2 separate regions of the Homo sapiens genome follow, and region 2 is linked to region 1. The links are contacts of gene promoters, found by promoter capture Hi-C in human tissues and cell types (Jung and others, 2019). All regions are on one chromosome and are shown on one strand. Each heading gives the region's core, a stretch centred on a gene start or on the middle of the fragment in contact. The rest is flanking DNA. Distances are from core to core; before and after follow the strand shown. Region 1 holds the start of DNAAF2 (dynein axonemal assembly factor 2). Region 2 has its middle 20 kb from the start of NEMF.

Evidence for each region. The method cuts DNA at HindIII sites, captures the fragments that hold promoters and counts their contacts. A contact is called where the count stands out against the background at its distance.
Region 2: a fragment that was not itself captured here is called in contact with the fragment with the promoter of DNAAF2 in region 1 in 1 of the 25 tissues and cell types used here (hippocampus).

The regions. Positions count from the first base shown.
Region 1 is chr14:49,633,588-49,637,788 of GRCh38, forward strand. It overlaps DNAAF2 (dynein axonemal assembly factor 2), which reads right to left and starts at 1,657. Exons shown (of 3, transcript NM_018139.3): 1 at 1-1,657. The coding sequence starts at 1,562. RefSeq lists silencers at 219-488, 759-998, 1,229-1,278 and enhancers at 489-728, 541-1,301. The HindIII fragment of the contact is 16,157 bases long and covers 1-4,201 here.
Region 2 is chr14:49,870,242-49,874,442 of GRCh38, forward strand. No RefSeq gene overlaps it. Among named protein-coding and RNA genes, the nearest start is that of NEMF, 20 kb to the left of the region's middle. The HindIII fragment of the contact is 9,165 bases long and covers 1-4,201 here.

The sequences.
Region 1 (4,201 bases), core at 407-2,906:
AAAGGCTCCCCGCTCTTGGTCCCGGGACCACCCATGGCGCAGGCTGAGCGCTGGCCGCCCGTGCCCTCCGACTCCTCGCGTGTTTCCACACTGCTATCTCCGCGCGCACTCTCTCTTCCCGCAGAAGAACCCCACGCCAGGCTCCGGGAGGACAAACAAGGGGAGCCTCCGCCACCAGGTGAGTTTTCTCCTCCAGGAGATGGCTCCTCCACGCTGCCCGGCGGTGACCCCGCGTGCCTGCTCAAGTCCTGCTCCCCCGGCTTGGGGACACGCTCCTCTCCAGCTGCGGCCGGCGGAGGCGCCACCTCCGGGTCGCCCAGGGTGGTGACCCCGGAGCCCGCAGCCCCAGCCACGCAGGTATCGTGGCCTCCGTCCTCCGCGCGACTCCTCGCGGGTCCCGCCTCCCCCTCGCGAGCGGAAGCGCAGGCCTGGCCGTCAGTTCCGGACCGGTCCGCGGACTCTTCCGGCGCGGCGGCGGCGACGGCGACAGCGGGCTCCCGGCGCGCGGCCGGCAGCACCACTGGCAGCGTAACCACCAGCTGCCGCCGGGCCTTGTTGAATTGTGCCTTGCCGCGGCCATCGTCCACTGGGTACGGGAGCGAGAGCCGCAGCCGGTAGTCAGGTTTCCTCGAGTCGAGGCACAGCAGCTTTCTCGTTACCTCCAGCGCCGCCTGCTCGGCCGAGCGCAACAGCGGCAGTTCGATGGTGATCACCAGCTCATGGGGCACGGGGCTCGGGGCTGAGTCCCTGGAGCAGCGGTAATCCTGGAGGTCCACGTGGTGGCGCTGCACCACGCTGTAGCGAGGCTCGGTGGGGGCGGGCTGCAAGGCCGCTTCCGGAGGGGAGGGCGCCCGGGGCCCGGGGGCTGCCGGGTACTGGTAAGGGTAGGGGAAGTCCGGGAGAGGACCCTTCGGCTCCCCGTCAGGCCTTGCGGGGATGACCCCGGGCAGGGGCGTGCGCAGCACCGCAGCCTCTGGGGTCCCCTTATACTTGGCCTTCAGGGTCTTGGCATTCCTGCGGTCCAGCTTCACGCCGAACTGCTTCTCGACGGCCTCCAGGGCCGTGGCGTCCAGCATCTGGCGGAAGCCCTCGTGCCGCCGGGCCAGCGCAAGCGCGTCTGGATGGAAGACCACGTCGTAGACCATGTAGCGGCTGCTGCTGCGCCCCGCGTACTCGCGGCCGGGCGCCAGGCTGTAGGGCAGGGACCAGTGGCTGCCAGGAGCTGCGCCCCGGTCGCCACCGGAGCCGGGCCGGCTGCTGGGCGCGCCCACCAACGCGTTGCTGCAGACATTCACAAAGCAGCGCCGCGCCCCGTCCAGGCTGGTGCGCAGCACATGGCCGGGCTCCGGGTGCACGAACCGCACTTCCACCCCGCGCTCACGCTCTAGCGCGGTGATCTCCGCCTCGTAGCGCCGCCGGTTCTCCGGGTCGGTGAGCTCCTCGGCGTACTGGGAGAACATTCGCCGGAACTCCGGGTCCTGGAAGGCGGAGGTGAGCCGCTGGACCTCCTCTCCGCTCAGGTCCAAGTCCTCCAGCGACGAGGAGGCCGCCGCTTTGGCCATACTGTCCTGTGGCTCCTCGCCCTCGGGCCAAAGGCGATCAGTCTGACACTGGGTTGGGGGATCCGCCTCAGAGTTTCTGGGCAGCGTACAGTGACGCGGTGGAGGTCGGTAACGGCTGGAAAATTGAGCCTTGAGCAGCGCGTGCTTGTTGTCATAGTTACACCACTAACATTCGGGAGGAGGGGTAGAGATCATGGTGGAATAGGCCGGGCGCGGTGGCTCAGGCCTGTAATCCCAGCACTTTGGGAAGCCTAGGCGGGCGGATCACGAGGTCAGGAGATCGAGACCATCCTGGCTAACACGGTGAAACCCCGTCTCTACTAAAAATACAAAAAATTAGCCGGGCATGGTGGCGGGTGCCTGTAGTCCCAGCTACTCGGAAGGCTGAGGCAGTAGAATGGGGTGAAACCCAGGAGGCAGAGCTCTTGCGGTGAGCCAAGATCGCGCCACTGCACTCCGGCCTGGGCGACAGAGCAAGTCTCTCAAGGAAATCATGGTGGAATAGTGGAAATGCCAGAAATAGCCCTCTTAGATTCTTCAAACCAACCCACCACCGTACTTTGTTTTGTTTTGTTTTGTTTTTCTTTTTTTGAGACAGAGTCTCGCTCTGTCACCCAGGCTGGAGTGCAGTGGCGCAGTTTCGGCTCACTGCAAGCTCCACCTCCCAGGTTCACGCCACTCTCCTGCCTCAGCCTCCCGAGCAGCTGGGACTACAGGCGCCTGCCACTACGCCCAGCTAATGTTTTGTATTTTTACTAGAGACAGGGTTTCACCGTGTTAGCCAGGATGGTCTCGATCTCCTGACTTCGTGATCCGCCCGCCTCGGCCTCCCAGAGTGCTGGGATTATAGGATTACAGGCATGAGCCACCACACCAGGTCCAAAACCTTTTTTTTTTTTTTTTTTTTTTTGAGGCTGTCTCACTCTGTCACCCAGGCTGGAGTGCAGTGGTGCAGTCTTGGCTCACTGCAACCTCCGCCTCCCGGGTTCAGGCAATTCTCCCTGCCTCAGCCTCCCAGGTAGCTGGGATTACAGTGACTCACCACCACGTCCGGCTAAGTTTTGTATTTTTAGTAGGGATGGGATTTCACCATGTTGGCCAGGCTGGTCTCCCACTCTTGACCTCATGTGATCTGCCCACCTCAGCCTCCCAAAGTGCTGGGATTACAGGCATGAGCCACCGCGCCCGGCCTAAAACCTTTCTAATGTGCATATTTTTTTGACCCAAATGCCCTTAGAGTATTTGACACAATACTCTTAGAACATTCTCAAGGTGACATCATTTATGATTCTAAAGGTTTGAGAAGAATCTACAAATTCAACAATGGAACTGATTGAGCAGGTTTTGGTAGAGCCACGCAACAGAGTTTTGTGCAACCATTCAAAATGATCATATGGAAGTATATTTATTTACTGGAGTAATTATTTATTCATTGGTAATTGGTCAATTCAGTGATCATTTTTCTATTCTCAGCAACATTTAACACAGTTGATGTTGGCATTACCTCAGTGACAAGACACTTTCCAGATTTCTCTTCTGTCTCATCACTCTCATAGTTTTGCTCTGTAGGTATCTACTTCTTTTCAACTTCTACATGGAAATGCCCCAAAACTGGGACCCAATCTCTTACCCATCTATACTCTCCTTCAGAAATATATTTACACTCACAAATACTTGTCTTAGACTCAGATTTTACACTCCTATATCCAGCTGCACGTTTGAGGTGTCCATTTGAGTGATTAATGCATAAGCTACTCAGGCTTGAAATGACCAAGATCAGAACTCCTGAATCCTCTTTTCCCAAACCACTGCCTTATCTTATGGTCTCTTGGAAGCATTCAAAGCAGTTGACTGCCCCTTCGAAACACATTTTTCTCATGTTTTGCAGAACTCCAAGCTCTCCCATTTTCCTCCTTTATGCTCCTGCCAGTTCTGCAAATGTGGGAGTTGCCCAAGGCTTTGTTCATCAGCCCTCTTACCTAATCACATTTCTTCCAAGATGTCTTATCCAAGCCCATAGTTTTAAATGCCATCTGTGTTCAAATTAGTCCTTTCAACAGATATTTATTGTGTGCTTATTGCACTTATTATATAGGTAATTAACAAAGATGTGAAGCAGTTGCATTGCTTTTTTTTTTGAGACAGAGTCTTGCTCTGTCGCCTAGACTGGGGTGCTTTGGCGCGATCTTGGCTCACTGCAACCTCCGCCTCCTGGGTTCAAACAATTCTCCTGCCTCAGCCTCCCAAGTAGCTGGGATTGCAGGCACCTACCACTGCGCCCAGCTAATTTTTGTATTTTTTAGTAGAGATGGGATTTCACCATGTTGGTCAGGCTGGTCTCCAACTCCTGAGCTCAGGTGATCCGCCCACCTCGGCTTCCCAAAGTGCTGGGATTACAGGCACAAGCCACCATGCCCAGCCAGCAATTGCACTTTCATATCCTGGGAGTATATATTGGAACACTGTTAACATAAGGCTTACGACAATGAAATTCTCCCAGATACACATTCAACAGAAACACATATCCCCACCAAAACACATGTACTACAATGTGTGTATTCATAGCGGCACTATTTCATAGTTGACAAATTCTGGAAGCAACCCAAATTCTCATTCATAGTAGAATGGATAAATGTAAA
Region 2 (4,201 bases), core at 537-3,036, 240 kb after region 1:
ATGATGTGGTGGTTGAACAAATAGCACCATAGGTACTTGCTAGGGGATACATTACACATACAGTATGTCATCACAATTCACATTGTTAATAATTAAAAATATATTCTGTTACACTATGGTTTATGTGTATGATTTTTTTTTTCCTGAGATGGAGTCTCACTCTGTTGCCCAGGCTGGAGTGCCGTGGCACGATCTCGGCTCACTGCAATCTCTGCCTCCTGGGTTCAAGCGATTCTCCTGCCTCAGCCTCCCGAGTAGCTGGGATTACAGACGTGCACCACTACGCCTGGCTAATTTTTTTTTTTTTTTTTGTCAGTAGAGACGGGGTTTCGCTATGTTGGCCAGGCTGGTCTCAAACTCCTAACCTGAAGTGAACCGCCTGCCTCGGCCTCCCAAAGTGCTGGGATTACAGGCGTGAGGCACCGTGACCAGGCAGTTTATGTGTATGATACATTTCTTTTTTGAGATAGAGTTTCACTCTTTTTGCCCAGGCTGGAGTGCAGTGGTGTGATCTTGGCTCAACTCAACCTCCACCTCCTGGGTTCAAGTGATTCTTCTGCCTCAGCCTCCTAAGTAGGTGGGATTACAGGCATGTACCACCACACCCAGCTAATTTTTTTTTTTTTTTTTGTATTTTTAGTAGAGACAGGGTTTCTCCATGTTGGTCAGGCTAGTCTCGAACTCCCAACCTCAGGTGATCCATCCGCCTAGGCCTTTCAAAGTGCTGGGATTACACGTGTGAGCCACCGCGCCCGGCCTATATGTATATTTTATGACCAAAGGAATTCACACTTTTCTCAGTGTTTGCTTTTAGGGCTAATGAACTGGAAAAGCAGTCCAATTTATACAGAGAATACTGAAGGCACAAGCTGCCTGTGTCTGTTCAGCTGAAACCCCTTGCTGACAAGGTTCTAATTCATTTTGTGACACAGCTCATTTTCCAAGGGGGAGTATAGCCTAGGGTGTGGCAAGAAACAAATAAAGGCAAAACCACTACACATTAGTTAGAATATTGTTAAAAGAGACAGTCTATAGTCACTGTGATGTATGGATAAACAATATTGCATATTACAAGAGTATTTGTATAATCAAAACCATTATATACAAATGCTATTATGATTTATCATTATAAAAACAAATATTAATGTTCTTGTACATTATAATAATAATATAAACTAGAAGAGTGATTTATCCCCTTTTGAGCATAAGATTTATTAAAATAGTAGGTCCCTTTGTGCATTCATTCATTCATTCATTAACTCTACATCATTAGTCATTGGGGAAATGCAATCAAAACCACAAGAGATACAATTTCTTACCTACTAGGATCACGAAAATAACAACAGCAAAACAGAAAATAACAAGTGTTGAACTGGGCAGGTGGTGCATGTCTGTAGTCCCAGCTACTCAGGAGGCTGAGATGGGAGGATCTGTTGAGCCGAGGAGTTCCAGGCCGGCCTGGGCAACATAGCAAGACCTCATCTGAAAACAATGAAACAAACAAAAACAACAAAGAAAAGAATAACAAGTGTTGGCAAGGATGTGGAGAAATTAGAACTCTCATACATTGCCAGCGGGAATGTAAAATAGTGCAGCTGCTGTGAAAAACAGTTTGACAGTTCCTCAAAAATGTAAACATACAATCACCATATGATTGAGTGATTCCACTCCTAGGTACAGACCCCACAAAGAACCAAAAGCAGGTACTCAAAGAGATACTCGCATTAATGTTTGTCACAGCACTATTCACAATAGTCAAAAGGTGGAAACAACTCAACTGTCCATCAACAGATGAATAAGTAAACAAAATGTGATGCATATTCATATTCAGCCATAAAAAGGAATAAGGTTCTGACGCATGCTACAACATAAATGAGCCTTGAAAACATGTAAAGTGAAATAAGCCAGACACTGAAGGACAAATAAATCCATTTGTGTGAAATCTGTAGAATAGGCAAATATGTAGAGATAGAAAGTAGACAGAGGTTGGGAATTAGGGTAGGGAATTAGGAATTTTTATCTTATCTTACTTTTCATTTTTTTGAGACAGGGTCCTACTCTGTCACCCAGGCTGGAGGGAAGTGGCTCACTGCAGCATTGAACTCCCCTGGCTCAGGTGATCCTCCCACCTCCAGCCTCCAAGGTAGCTGGGGCTACAGGTGTGCACCACCACACCTGGCTACTTTTTGCATTTTTTTTTTATAGAGATGGTGTTTCACCATGTTTCCCAGGCTGGAGTTATTACTTAATGGGTATAGAATTTCTGTTTGAGGTGTTGAAAAAGTTTTGGAAATAGTAGTGATGGATGTACAATATTGTGAGCGTAATTGATGCTCCTGAATTATACACTTGAAATGGTTGGCCGGGCGAGGTGGCTCACGCCTGTAATGCCAGCACTTTGGGAGGCCGAAGCGGGCGGATCACAAGGTCAGAAGATAGAGACCATCCTGGCTAACATGGTGAAACAACCCTGTCTCTACTAAAAATACAAAAAATTAGCCAGGCCTGGTGGTGGGTACCTGTAGTCCCAGTTACTTGGGAGGCTGAGGCAGGAGAATGGCATGAACCCGGGAGGCGGAGCTTGCAGAGAGCTGAGATCATGCCAATGCACTCCAGCCTGGGCGACAGAGCAAGACTCCGTCTCAAAAAAAAAAAAGAAAAAAGAAAAAAAGAAAAGAAAAGAAAGAAAAACAAAAAAGAAAAAAGAAATTGGTTAAAATGGCAAATTTTATGTTACATACATTTTAACAGTTGGGCATATCTGTGTGGGTTCATTTCTGGGTTCTCTGTTGTGTGTCACTGATCTGCTTATCCCTCCATCAAGATGACAAAGTCTTGATTACTAGCTATGTGATAAATATTAAAATTGGGTAGACTGATTCGTCCCACTTTTCTTTTTGAAAATTGTTTTAGCTATTTTAGTTCCTTTGCATTTCCATATAAATTTTAGAATAATCTTGTCTATATCTACAAAATAAATCTTGCTAGGATTCTGATAGGAATTGCACTAAACCTGGAGGAAATTGACATTTTTTTACCATGCTGAATCTTCCAATCCATGAACATAATGTATCTTCCCATATGTTTGGATATTATTTTATTTCTTTTGTGTTTTGTAGTTTTTGATATATACATTCTGTATATTTCAATTTTTTGAGTGAATACAAATATTGTATTTAAAATTTTAGTGTCCATGTGTTTATTGCCAGTATATAAAATACAGTTGATTATTATTATTATTATTTGTTTTTTTGAGACGTAGTCTCACTCTGTCCCCCAGGCTGGAGTGCAGTGGTACAATATCGGCTCACTGCAACCTCGGCCTCCCAGGTTCAAGTGATTCTCCTGCCTCAGCCTCCTGAGTAGCTGGGATTACAGGTGCCTGCCACCAGACCCGGCTAATTTTTTGTATTTTTAGTAGAGACAGGGTTTCACTATGTTGGCCAGGCTGGTCTCGAATGCCTGACCTCATGATCCACCCACCTCGGCCTCTCAAAGTGCTGGGATATAGGCGTGAGTCACCATGCCTGGCTGAAATACAGTTAATTATTGTGGGAGGTTTGTGTTTTCAGATTTCTTGGGATTTTATATGTAGGAAATAACGTCTTCTATAAGTAGCAAAAGTTTTATTTTTTCCTTCCCAATCTATATGCCTTTTATTAATATTTCACTTTCTAGCCCTAATGCATGGCTAGAACTTTGAGCACCATGTTGAACGAGACCAGTGAGGTTGAACATCTTCCCTTGTTCTGATCTTAGTGAGAGAGCATTCAGTTTTTTACCATTAAGTATGTTAGCTGTAGGGATATTCTTTTCTTTTCTTTCCTCTTTTCTTTTCTTTCTTTCTTTCTTTGGAGGTTAAAAAAAATCAAATTGGGAAAGTTCTTCTCTATTCCTGTTTTTCATAAAATTTTATACCATGAGTAGGTGCTAAATTTTGTCAAATATTTTTTCTGCCTTCATAGAAATGATCAAGTGATTTTCTTTCTTTCTTTCTCTCTCTTTCTTTCTGTCTTTCTCTCTCTCTCTTTTTTTTTTTTTTTTTTTTTTTGACAGAGTCTCACTCTGTCGCCCAGGCTGGAGCACAGTAGTGGCATGATCTCGGCTCACTGCAACCTCTGCCTCCCAGGTTCAAGCACTTCTACTGCCTTAGCCTCTGGAGTAGCTGGGACTACAGGCACGTGTCACCAAGCCCAGCTAA